Linked DNA regions of Homo sapiens: region 2 is linked to region 1. The links are contacts of gene promoters, found by promoter capture Hi-C in human tissues and cell types (Jung and others, 2019). All regions are on one chromosome and are shown on one strand. The core of a region is centred on a gene start or on the middle of the fragment in contact, and the rest is flanking DNA. Distances in the headings are between cores, read along the strand shown.

Evidence for each region. The method cuts DNA at HindIII sites, captures the fragments that hold promoters and counts their contacts. A contact is called where the count stands out against the background at its distance.
Region 2: a contact is called between a fragment that was not itself captured here and the fragment with the promoter of NOL7 in region 1, in 1 of the 25 tissues and cell types used here (dorsolateral prefrontal cortex).

The regions. Positions count from the first base shown.
Region 1 is chr6:13,612,774-13,619,398 of GRCh38, forward strand. It overlaps NOL7 (nucleolar protein 7), which reads left to right and starts at 2,562. Exons shown (of 8, transcript NM_016167.5): 1 at 2,562-2,851; 2 at 2,939-2,999; 3 at 3,690-3,748; 4 at 4,997-5,028; 5 at 5,285-5,366. The coding sequence starts at 2,586. It overlaps SIRT5 (sirtuin 5), which reads left to right. Exons shown (of 10, transcript NM_012241.5): 10 at 1-2,385. It overlaps LOC124901263 (a long non-coding RNA gene), which reads right to left and starts at 2,429. Exons shown (of 2, transcript XR_007059461.1): 1 at 1-2,429. RefSeq lists an enhancer at 1,775-1,944. The HindIII fragment of the contact is 29,829 bases long and covers 1-6,625 here.
Region 2 is chr6:12,921,804-12,927,974 of GRCh38, forward strand. The region is part of intron 4 of PHACTR1 (phosphatase and actin regulator 1); the gene reads left to right. Among named protein-coding and RNA genes, the nearest start is that of PHACTR1, 210 kb to the left of the region's middle. The HindIII fragment of the contact is 6,648 bases long and covers 946-6,171 here.

The DNA.
Region 1 (6,625 bases), core at 1,312-3,811:
GCAAATATGTGGACCCCCAGGATAAACACAGCTGCCCAAAATTTAGCTCTGGCCCCCTTAGATGGGGGAAGTCAACAGTGAAGTGTTTCTCAGCATCATAAAGGCAGAAGCTGTGGTTCCTGTGGGGCCTGCCAACCGTTCCCAGATGCTGAACTCTGCTGGGAGTTTTTTCCATGGGACTTTAAAAAATGATGCCCTTAGGTTGGGCCAGACCTCTGTTAACTTCAGTAGGGATGGCACCAGGTTCAAGAGGCCAAAGAAGAGACCTGGAGCTAGTGAAGGAAACATAGGGTTTATTTGGGGAACCTTACAGGGTGGTCCAGTGGCCGCGGGCTGGACAGAACTGCAACCACTTATAAAAAGCATGCAGTTTACATAGCACTTTCACTCAGCACCCTCCCCTCAGCAGCCTCCACGTGGCAACCCTCACTTCTTAAGTTATTGCTGTCAGATGCATCTGCCATACAGGGTCATTCTCAGGGGATGCTTAAGTTATTTCTGTCAGGTACATCTTCCATACACTTTACTACCTTGGAGTAAAGTAGTAAGAATACAGCTTTTTCCTTAACCTTTACCAGCTAACTCAGTGCTTAGGGGCCTTGGAATGCCTGCTGTCCAGCAGGTGTCACAGGCCTGACTGGGAGGCATGGCCATTATCAACAGTGTATGAAGGTCACATATGGCTCCCTGAAGTGATTACATACTTGGACCACATCACCTCAGCCCCTTGCAAAATTGCATTTAATGTTACACCCTTGGCTTTTGTAGAAACAGGCAACAAGACACTATCATATAAAACTTTGTACTGCATTGCAAGGCATAACCTTTAATAAATCCCAGTGGTCCTTTGTGTAGGGAACGGGGATGCTCATAGCCTATGGGGCGGCTGGAGAACCAGTCAGGGACCCTGAGGGCTCGATGTACACTTTACATGGGTGGGCCAAGGAGTTTACACTGAGGGCACTGGTAATACCTGTAATAGTCTTATAGTACTTATAAAGCAGTTTTGCACATAAAATACCATCATGCACTTATAAGTTTGTTCTTGGGCTGCTCCAAGTTAACTTTATTCATTTTCCTAGTGTTAGTGTCTCAGGGAGTCTGATTATATTTTTGATTTGTAATTTCTATCTGACTAAGGCCTAGAGATTTCAAAACTGTTCTTTGCAATTCCTCTCATACTGAACCTCTGGTTCAGCAGCTTTTTTTGTTGTTGTTGTTTTCAAGTTTTATCATTTTTGTTCCTATTTGGTTTTGTCGTTTTTAAATTGAGAATTGCTTCTAAAACAGAAGACATGAAAAGAGAATTAAAAATACAATATATGTGTAAGATAGAATTATTCAACTTAGCATTTATTAAACATCTACCAGATGATAGACATTAGAAATAAAATGACTAGCAAGACCTGGCCCTTCCCCTCAGGGGTTCACAGAATGGCTGGAGCAACTGTCATATAAGCTGTTATGAAGTGCAGAAACTACACAGACATTTGTGCGGGTTCAGACCAGCGCAATTAGAGATGGGCAGAGTGGGATGGGGTAGGGGTAAGGTGCTTGAAATTTGCCTGGGTGGGAATTTTTGAAGTATAAAAAGGACTTCTACCTGGGGGGCTGCGGCAGTAGAGGGAAGAGCACGGTCGGTACAAATGCATGGCAGGTGTGAAACAGTTTGATTTGTTCAAAGAATGATGAATCACTTAGTGTTGTATAATGGATGGGAGGAGAGAAACACAGCGATCACAAAGGGCCATGTTTGCCAAGAAATAAAATATACTTGGAAAAAAAGTACGTATGTGTATATACCACAAAACTCGGGTGCATTCTCTAGGGACCGGCGAAGCCATTCTTTCAGGAGATATGCTCAGCATTTGCCACGGGCCAGCTGCTGTTCCAGGTCGTGGGTTAGGGCCCGGCACCAGGAAGGGCGCCCCTCCCACAGGGCCGACATCCTAACCGGCGTCGCTGCGGCCGCGGAGCTGGGAAGGCCGAGGGCGCCGGGCACGTCTGTGCAGATTTCTTTAGAGTCCAGGTCTGTCGCCCGCGTCTTCGTCGGTGGCAGCAGGGCTGACTGGCCACGGCGGCCATCTGCTAGAGCGCATTTCTTCCCATGAAACGCCACCTCCTCCGAAGTGCGGAGCGAACGCAGCCAAATCTACACAAAGACTGACAAGCTGGATCCACTCGACGGAACCCAGGGCCAAAAAACGGCGGCGAGCAGCGCCTCGGGCCCGCGATTACCGGTTTTCTGAGCACCGGACAGCGTGAGCCGTGCCAGCCCTGTCTCGCCATCCCAGCCGAGGAGGGCAGCGCGATGGCTCTTCCCTGCCTTGAAATCAACCCCATTGCCAGCCGCTTTCGCCGGCAGAGCATTTTCCGTGGGGTCCATCCGGCTCCAAGGCGGCCTGCGCTGGCCACGTGGAAAGAAACACGCCCACTGCCTACAGGCCACGCCCTTCCTCCCTTCGCGCATGCGCCCCACCCGTCCTGAGGACCTCCGAACCTGCAGGGGGCGATGAAAGTAGGCTTGCGCTCCGCTTGTAGCTGCTTCCGGGTCAGAGGTCAGACGGTCTAGCGCTGCGTGGGCCATGGTGCAGCTCCGACCGCGAGCGTCTCGCGCCCCGGCGTCGGCGGAGGCGATGGTGGACGAGGGCCAGCTGGCCTCGGAGGAGGAGGAGGCGGAGCACGGGCTGTTGCTCGGGCAGCCCAGCAGCGGCGCGGCCGCCGAGCCCCTGGAGGAAGACGAGGAAGGGGACGATGAGTTTGACGATGAGGCCCCGGAGGAGCTGACTTTCGCCAGCGCCCAGGCGGAAGCGAGAGAAGAGGAGCGGCGAGTGCGGGAGACCGTGCGCAGGTTCGGAGCCCGCTGCCCGGCGGGGAGAACCGCCCTTTCTCGTCCCGCTTGTCCTTCCCTTTGCTGACTTATCACCCTTCCTCCCAGGGATAAAACGCTCCTGAAGGAGAAGAGGAAGCGACGCGAGGAGCTGTTCATCGAACAGAAGGTTAGAGGCTAGGGAGGAGGTGTCTTATTAAAACAACTCGGCTCAGGGAGAATTCCTATGGTGGATGTAATTTGGGTTGGCAGGATATTGGAGTGGGGAAACAGTCACCAAGATTGCCTCTGACAGTGGTGGAAAGATGCTCGGGCCGGGCGCGGCAGTACTTTAGTTGGACGAGGTGGGCGGAGCCCGGGATGTCGAGGCTGCCTGGAGCCGAGATCACACCACTGCGCTCCAGCCTGGGCGACAGAGCGAGACCCTGTCTCAAAAAAAAAAAGTTCGTCTCCTTTAGTGTCCACCAACTGAAAATAAGAGGTTGCTGTGAGAATTAAATGAGGTGATTTGTAAACTGTAAGGGCTGTACAGACTTAGTGTATGGTTGCTTTGCTGTCTGATACTCGACACAGAGAGCTGGCTCCAGGCAGACATTACTTAACTGCTTTCAATTTATAACAGTGACCTGAGGGTTAGAATACCGTGGGCACCCTTTCTAGTTTTCATCAAGTCTTTCAGAGAATGTGGAGTTTTGTGGACCCGGTCTTCCCATAGCTTAGAGGTATGGGGGCAGTTTCCAGCCTAATTCATTTCTTTGCCTAGATGTAGGGCATTCTTAAAAGCGGTAACTTCAGAAGCAACTCCGGACATACTATGTACATGACTTTCTATTAATTTTAAACGTTTTCATTCCAAAAGAAAAGAAAACTCCTTCCAGACACTATTTTGGAGAAGTTAACCACAGCTTCACAGACTAAGTAAGTAATGGATCTTTTTATATTACTTGCTTATATACACCCATCTTTGAATTATATACTGGTACATTTATTTGAATCCATATAACTGAAGGAATTGTAGAACCCAAATTCAAAAGCTACCTTGGTATATGAATTTGATGGGAAAGACGGAGGTAACGTTCTACTTCTTATTTTACCATTTATTTTTGTTCATTCCCATAGCTAGCTTTTGAATTCCTGATCCCATTGTGTTCATTCAGTACATTTTGTTGACTGCCTGTCATTGTACTAGGGCATAGTGGGTGGTGGTGAATAAAAAGTGTTTTGAATCATTTAGTGGGGTAGCAGGCACTTATCCACAGGCTCTGAAAACTTGATTTGTCCCATACTTGCCTTACCTGCCACCAACCTGTCCTTCCTGTTCCCCACTTCATTTAGCATCTTTGGTGTTTTATGGTTTAAAGCGAAAAGCTATAGTCGTCTTTGGGAATTGATCAAACCCTACTAAATTTAGCCTTCTAAATTTTTTTTTTTCTATCCTCTTTTTCTCCCCTTAAGGCTTTAAATTCAGAAATTCAGCCCCCTTTTGCTTAGGCCAGTGACTCTCAAGTTTTCAGTAAAAAAACTTTACCAAAGAGTTACTCAGATCCTGAATACATTAAACGTAAGAGCAAATCTATTTGGTGGCAAATTCCCTTTCATCTTTTAAAACCAAGCTCAAGTGTCACCTTTACCTTCTCATTTGCCCCCCCCCACCTCCCATCACTTCCGCTTTTGTGTGGCCTTTCTCCTGTGCAAATGCTTCTGTATTGTATTCTGTCCATTTACATTTCTCTCTCCATTGGGCCACAGCCCCCTTGAGGCTGTTCCCTGTCTCCTGTGCCTAAACTATTAAATTAATCCTTTGTGATTTCTCCAAATGAAATGAGGCAGACCTACTCCCATTCACTTCATATTTCAAATACTTTATAACTTGTTCTGAACAAGTGTTTCACTTGAACTCCATTGCCCACAGCATTTTGCTGCTTTGAAAGCCTGCTAATAGGCTCTCAGATTTTAACTGTGAAGATCTTCCAATGCTTGAGAGTTGGTGGCAGTGTACTAGGGAGTGACTATTGCTTTCCAAACTGATGAGAGCTCCTGAGTAGAAATTGAGGGTGTTGGTAATGAAAGGGGGTGTCTTACTTGTAAAGGCAAATGAAATAATATAACATGTTTTGAGTAATCTTTACTGCCATTGCAGTCAGTGGTTTTGTTTTTTTTCCTTAGCATCAAGAAATCGCCAGGAAAGGTGAAAGAAGGTATGACTATTCTAATTTAACTAACTTCTCATGTAAGTGTCAAGTGCACTTGCAGATGTTTCCAGTCAAATATGAATGGCCCTTAGAAAGCCAGCATGGGCCTGGCCAAGGTTAGCTGGGGCCTATTCCCTGTATTTCATACAAATAAAAACTGCATCCACATTGGTGTGTAGTGGATGCTTAAAGTGAACTCCAGTAAATTTCCTGATTTATTTTTACGTGAATGCTAATTAGAAAATGTAACTCTATTTTTTAGTTAATTTGCAAAAGAAAAATGAAGACTGTGAAAAAGGAAATGACTCCAAGAAAGTTAAAGTACAAAAAGTACAGTCTGTCAGGTAATGAGTCTTTTGTTTCATTTGGGATGTAAAGGAGACCTTTAAGAGAGTTAAAGTATTGGCTAACATGGGAAAATATTTTATTTTATTTTATTTTATTTTTATTTTTTTATTTTTTTGAGACGGAGTCTCGCTCTGTCGCCCAGGCCGGACTGCGGACTGCAGTGGCGCAATCTCGGCTCACTGCAAGCTCCGCTTCCCGGGTTCACGCCATTCTCCTGCCTCAGCCTCCCGAGTAGCTGGGACTACAGGCGCCCGCCACCGCGCCCGGCTAATTTTTTGTATTTTTAGTAGAGACGGGGTTTCACCTTGTTAGCCAGGATGGTCTCGATCTCCTGACCTCATGATCCACCCGCCTCGGCCTCCCAAAGTGCTGGGATTACAGGCGTGAGCCACCGCGCCCGGCCGGGAAAATATTTTAATTAGTAGTAATTTCAGATTGTCGTCTCTGTGGAAAAACCAATTTTGGGCCGGGCATGTTTGCTTACACTTGTAATCCCAGCGTTTTGGGAGGCTGAAGCAGGTGGATTGCTTGAGTCCAGAATTTCAAGACCAGCCTAGGCAACATGGTAAAACCCAGTCTCTACACAAAATAAAAAAAGTAAGCTGGGCGTGCTGGTGTGCACCTGTATTCCCAGCTACTCCAGAGGCCAAGGTGGGAGGATCACTTGAGCCCAGGAGGTCGAGGCTGCAGTGAGGCGAGATTGTGCCACTGCACTACAGCCTGAGCGACAGAGTGAGACCCTGTCTCAAAAAAAAAATCGGTTTTCATAAAAAAATAAAGATCAGTTGAACACTTTGTCTTTGCAGGTCCTGCAGGTTAAGTTCAAAAACTTTTTTTTAGTGGTTTTATTATTGAGAAAATTTCATTTCACCTCTCCCAATAGATAGATGTTTATTTCAAGATACACTGCAGCCTACTGTCAGCACTTCAAACTTGCCAGCCTACTCTTATTCAGGCAGTTTAATTTTTCTGGCTGCTGAATGTTCCTCCAGTCACCAGCCCTTATGGTGCATGGTGCTGATGCAAAGACAGTCATTCCAATGGAAAGGTTGTTCACCACTATTGCCAGTCATGGCAATTCTTCAAAAGGAGTCATTTTTCACAAAATTCAACCTTTCCCTGACAATATGGCCTTATCTTCTATTCTTATGGTCTACAGAAGTCACAGAGAAAGTGCCTATTGCTGTTACTGGAATTTTGGCCGATACTGTGGACGATGTCTGTAGTATCTGTCTTGAAGTCCACAGGCATTCAT
Region 2 (6,171 bases), core at 3,020-5,519, 690 kb before region 1:
GAGGGAGGGAGCAAGGGGGAAGGAAGGAAGGGAGGGAGAGAGGGAGGCAGGAAGGCAAGAAGGCTGGTCCATGCATTGCTGTGTATTGCATCTCAGTGTTGTCTGGCTCTAGTGCCAGCAGGCCTTGTGAAAAGGGCCCTTACTCTCTCTCAGATTCATTCTCCACATCTGCAAATAAGAATGATGGTGCCTGTGCTATCCACATCACAAAGTCACAGTAAAAACAAGTATCAAAAGGAGATGATCACTTTGCTTTGTGGCACTATAAAGCAGAGAACATCTGTGAGCTACTTTTATAAGGAATACCCCATGTCATTTGCAGAACATTGAATGGGGAGTTGGGATCCCTGGGTTCTAATTTCTGGGTTGCCTTTTATTGGCAGTATGACCTCACAAAGGACTCTTCTCCTTGCAAGATCTTGCTTCCTCATTCATTAAATGGGAAAATTGGAATAAAAAATGACTCTAAGACTTCATAATTGTGACTGAAGTATTGAGGGTAATGTTTAGCAAAAGCATGTAAAATTATTCATAGCTCTGTCTTATTTTACGTAGATCAGTACACATTAATAATATTGGCTTTAGAGAACTGCATGCAGTGTATGGTGCTGGAGCCCAGGGAAAGTAAAGCAAGGGCATGTGAGTTAGCTTGTGCAGAGCCATCAGCATCCATAAAGGAATAAAGCAAAGTTCTCATCCTAACCTAAAATGAGAGTTTGAATATGCATGGAACAGCTAGATCGTGTTTAGAAGTCACATCCATAAACATGGAGATGGAAACAAGAACATATATCTCCTAGCTGATTCTCCATGCATTGATTTCAACTTTCCATTTCACTCCTCCTACTATCCTTTACCCATTCATTTTCAATAGTGTGCATTCCTAGTCAGTGGGTGGTAAGAAGGAGTATGGAAGTAAATACCTTCTAAGTAGATCTGAAGGACTTACTAGTTGCTTACTAATTCACTAATTCTATGAAGAAATTATCTGCAGCTCTGAAGAGGTATACATTATCCACTGAGACCATTGTCTATTAAGATTGGCATTGCCTTTGGAGTCAGGGTACAGGAATTAAAAGGAATAGCACCTCCTCCCACAACCCACCCTATTCCTAGAACTCTGCATCAGACCCCGGAGTAAATTGAAAGAACTATATTCCTTTAGTAAATACTTACTGAATGTTTTCTACAGACACTATGTCAGGAGATATGTAATCTGCCATAATTCTGATTGCAAAAATCCCCCATGCAATTTTGATTACAAAAATAGAATCCGAAACAGAGCCTTCCTCCATAAATCTATTGCCTGTGCAGCTAGGAATAGTTACAGAGACTTCCAGTAACTCAAAAGTTAATGCAAAGGAGACTAAGGATGTGCCCAAACTAGAAGAGATGAGAGGAGACAGGGGTCTAGATATGACTGACAAGTCTTTATCAAAGGTCATGGAAATGAATCTATCCCAAAGGACCTATGCTTTAATAATAAATAGTAAAAAAGATGTATGATTGAGAATTTACTTTGAAAAATGAATCTATGTAAGTTAATGTCATCCTCTAATGAAATTTAGGATAAAATATTACATGCTATAATTTATAGAACACAAAATAATTTTCACTAAAAATAATTTTGCAACAAATATTATGATAGCACAATGCAATATCCTTGACATCATGCATGACTTCTGCAGCATGATCCAAAAGAGAATCGCATTTGCTAAATTTTTTGAGAACCCCCTCCATTTTCCTAATACCAATACTTTGATATTGAAATTATTTCCATGGAAGCATCTATCTTATCATTATCCTTGCCAATTCTTTTTTTCCTTCTCAGTTACAAATGAATCTCTTTCAGAAGCTCATGATTCACTAGTTTTGCAGTTCTCCCCCATCATTTTCACTAACTTCAAGAAACCATGCATTCTTCACCAGATTTGCTCTTTCCCTTTGCAATTGATTTTAATTGTGTTGTCAGGTAACATTAGACACGAATGAGAAACCGATCTTCAAAGACAGGATAGGCCTGAAGAGGCAGTAGTGTAAGGAAGTGAGAGAGATGATGACTAATTTTATAAGCAGTAGGTTCATGTGTCACATGTTGATATTACAATGATTGTTTGCCTCTCTAAACACCACCATAAAGGTGGAGGTTTGGATAATGAAGAGCTTCTGTTCGTGGTAATAAGGTAACATTCTAAAGTAAACTGAATATCAAACACTTTAATTTACTAATTCAATCTTGAAAGACATGATCTCCAAATACAAACTGTGCTTTTTGTTGCTGTTGTATTGGGGTAAGTTTTGGAGGCAGTAGTTTAGATGATATAAAATATTTGCCCTTAAAGCTAAATTGACCTACTTTATAAACTGCTGAGACTATGTGTTTCTAGATAATACATGTGTATGTATGTAAATACATATATACATAAATATATTTACATATAGGCACAGATAAACGTGTGTGTCCATACATATGCCAACATGTGTTAATTTGTAATTATATTTAGGTTATTTAAAGTAAATGCAAACAACAATTCAAGCTTTATTATTGGTCTTATGTGTGTTTCTACAAGCAACCATCCCAAACTGGTTAAATTTTCTATTGACACTGATTTGCCCATCTTTTGGCAATGCACTAATTTCCATGAACTCTTAATGAGATATACAATGAGATTTAAAATTTTAAACTATATGCCGGGCACGGTGGCTCACGCCTGTAATCCCAGCACTTTGGGAGGCCGAGGTGGGTGGATCACAAGGTCAGAAGATCGAGACCATCCTGGCTAACATGGTGAAACCTTGTCTCTACTAAAAATACAAAAAATTAGCTGGGCAAGGGTGGCAGGCACCTGTAGTCCCAGCTACTCGGGAGGCTGAGGTAAGAGAATGGCATGAACCCAGGAGGCAGAGCTTGCAGTGAGCCGAGATCACACCACTGCACTCCAGCCTGGGCGACAGAGCGAGACTCTGTCCCGGAAAAAAAAAAAAAAAAAATTTAAACTATAGTAAGTAATCATTTTTGGCAGTTGCTTACACTCATTTGGACCCAACTTTAAAATGAAGAAGTGGTTTTTCTTACGTATTTGTATTGCAAATTGATGATCATAATGAAAATAGACATATTTTCAACTCATTTCATTAGCATTACCCCTCAATACATACCATTTATGACAGAAATCATCTGTGAGAAGCTCATTATGCCAGCATGGATTGTTTTTCTGGTTTTGATTCACATTCAGATCCATCACCTAAGTTTCTTATTTATCTTGGCATATGCTTTCCTGGCAGTGGCTGCTAAAATGCACACACAGCAGATGTCATTTGTATTTTATATACAATCGAATATCTCATAAGAAATGTGCAATGCAAACTTCAAGAACAAACATCTCCCAACAACTCCAACAACTTTATCACCTTTCTGTTGAGGGCTCAACTGACTTGTTGATTCAACATGGTTATGTTGTGATATTAGCTATAGGTTCAAAGTAAATTTTTTTCTGCCATCTTTTTCCTCTAGGTTATGAATATATTGGTCATCTAGGTCAGCAAGTCTTAATATTTTGGACCCTGTTCATCATCTCGTTAAACCTAAGAACACTCTTTCATATGACATACACACAAAAAGTTGGATAAAATTTTAATAACTTAATGTCTTTCTAAGGTACGAAACTGTTCTAAGAGAATACCTTCTATATCATATAGCAATTGTGAAGATTATATTAGATGATGTGCATAAAACTTCTAGCCCATAGAGTGGGATTTAACAGATTTGCAATAAATATTGGTACATTTTCCCCATTCCTCTTGTTATTCAGAATTCATATCTTATTTCAAAGGTCCTGGATTTGGCTGGTGACTAAATGCAATTCCACTAGTAAAACTTAAAAATAGTTTCCCATCTTGCAATTTACACTGATATTACAGAAAGCCCAGAATTCAACTCCAAAGGTGAGTAACATGAAGTATCAGAGAACAAAATGGCCTGGGAGCTCCCATTTCTCTGCTCCCCCAAAAGCAGTCTCCCATTTCCCTGCAACCCAAAGCAGAAATAGGAAAAAAAAATTTCAGGGGCCTGTCTCTCGTGTATCTTCAAACTCTGCCACTCCACTTTCCATCCTAACATGAACCCTGCCTGGCCCTCAAGCCATTATCACCTATCTCTTTTCCTTTCTTCACTAATATCTCTGAAAATAGTCTATATTCCGTCTTCCACGTTCTTCCTTTAAATTCACATGCCATCCCCTCTGCAGTGTGGCTTTTGCCTTTACCTTGCTACTGAAGCTTCTTTGGTTATGTCCCCTCTGAACTCCTAAATGCTGCCTCTCAGACCCCTTACTACTAGATAGAACTCTGTGCAGCTAATGGCCCAATGCCCTGACTTCTTCCTCGTCTAGAATTATGGCTACCATTGATGCCTTCATTCTTTCCAGTGTCTCTCTTGGATCTTCTCCACCATTTGGGTTTTACATTTTTTCCCTTTGACTCTTGTCTTTTCTCTCAGCCCTTTGTTTACATTTCCTAAGATTTTTGTCTTAGATGCTCTTCTCTTCTGGTTACATACCCTCTCTGGGGAATCTAGTCAATTCCCATGGCTTCAGTTCTACCCTGTTAACCAATGACTTCCAAATCTATAACTTGATTCCTCACATGAATTCTAGATCCATATCTATGTTTGGATACCCTACAGTTACTTCGAATTCCTTTTTCTCCCAACTTGTGTTACTTGTCCACGGTCCAGGCTCCACCTGCTCCACCCTGTCTCACAACATCAACATTCACCAAACCTCCTGACTCATATCCTTGTCCCCATAGAAAGCTGCCCATCAAGTCCTGAAGATTCCGCCTTTGTAGCATTTCTGGCTTTGGCAGCTTCTCCATCACAATCTGGTATGGACCCTCATTCCTCCCAACAGGATTTATAGAGTGACTTTCTCTTCTGATTCTCTGTTTACAAATCCGTCTTACAAATATCTAGCAGAGGCTATGCTCCAGCAGAGCTGATCATGAGCTCACAGTACTTACAGACAAAAGACCAATCTCTTTTGTGCAGCATTTAATCCCTACATGCGCTGGTCCTGGTCCTGCCTGGCCTCATCTTTGAAGTCACCAAGTCTTTTCATGCCTCTGTGCCTTTGTTTAGCTCTCATTTCTGCCAGCTCCTGCAAGCCTTAGTTAAATCTAGTCAATTGCTTAGGATCCAGCTCAGATGTCACCTTCTCTGTAAAGATTTATTTCACTTTTCCGCAAGCAATACAGTAATCACAACTTTGCTAATGCTGCTGGCATAGCACATATCACCCTGGGTCATCATGTGCAGTTATTCAGATTGTTTGCTGAACAAGGACACCTAGCCTAGAGGGCAAGGGTCTAAAATCCAGGCGAGTGGCAGAAGGGAGCATCTATTTTTCTAATTCACATAAAGGTGCAATATAGAGTATGGTGACCCAGTACTTCAAAAGGGACTTTAGTTTAGTGCTCCCTGAGGACATCTGCCTCTCTAGACTATAAACTCTTTGGGGCTAGGTCTTCTTTGTCTTTATATCTTCAATGTCTAGCACACTTTCTTGCATGGGCTTGCAAAGATGATCAGTTTTGGAAGATTAACAACAACAACAATAATACTGTATAAGCATTAAAAAAATCTCTTATATTGTAGGAACAACTCTAAGTGCTTTGCATGGATCATCTCAGTTGCCACATTAAGCCTATCAAGAAGGTACTATTAGTATTCCCATTTTGTGGATTATAAAACTGGTGCTTGAGGAAACTCAGTTATTTGCTTAAAGTCACACGGCCAGGATTTGAATCCAAGTCTGTTTAATTCCAGAATCTGGGCCCTTAAACACTATAGCAAACAGCATAGGTACCATGCATGCATACACCAAAAAAGAATTCACATGCCCGTGATGACAATGCCTGGGGCTCAGGACCATTTGAGAATCTAAAGTGTTTTTATAGAATGCAGTCTGCTGAAGAGCAAACCCAGAGGCATCCTGATGTCCACCTATAAAAAGATAGACATAACCTTTCTGCACAGGAACAGGGCGAGCTCAGCCCCTGCTGTCTCATGAGAGTCTAAGAGGAATTATCCTCCCGGCAGGTTAGCACTGCACAGAGTTAAGAGGGCTGCACCTCCGATTGCTGACCGTGGGTGTCTCTTGCTCTGCCACCAGC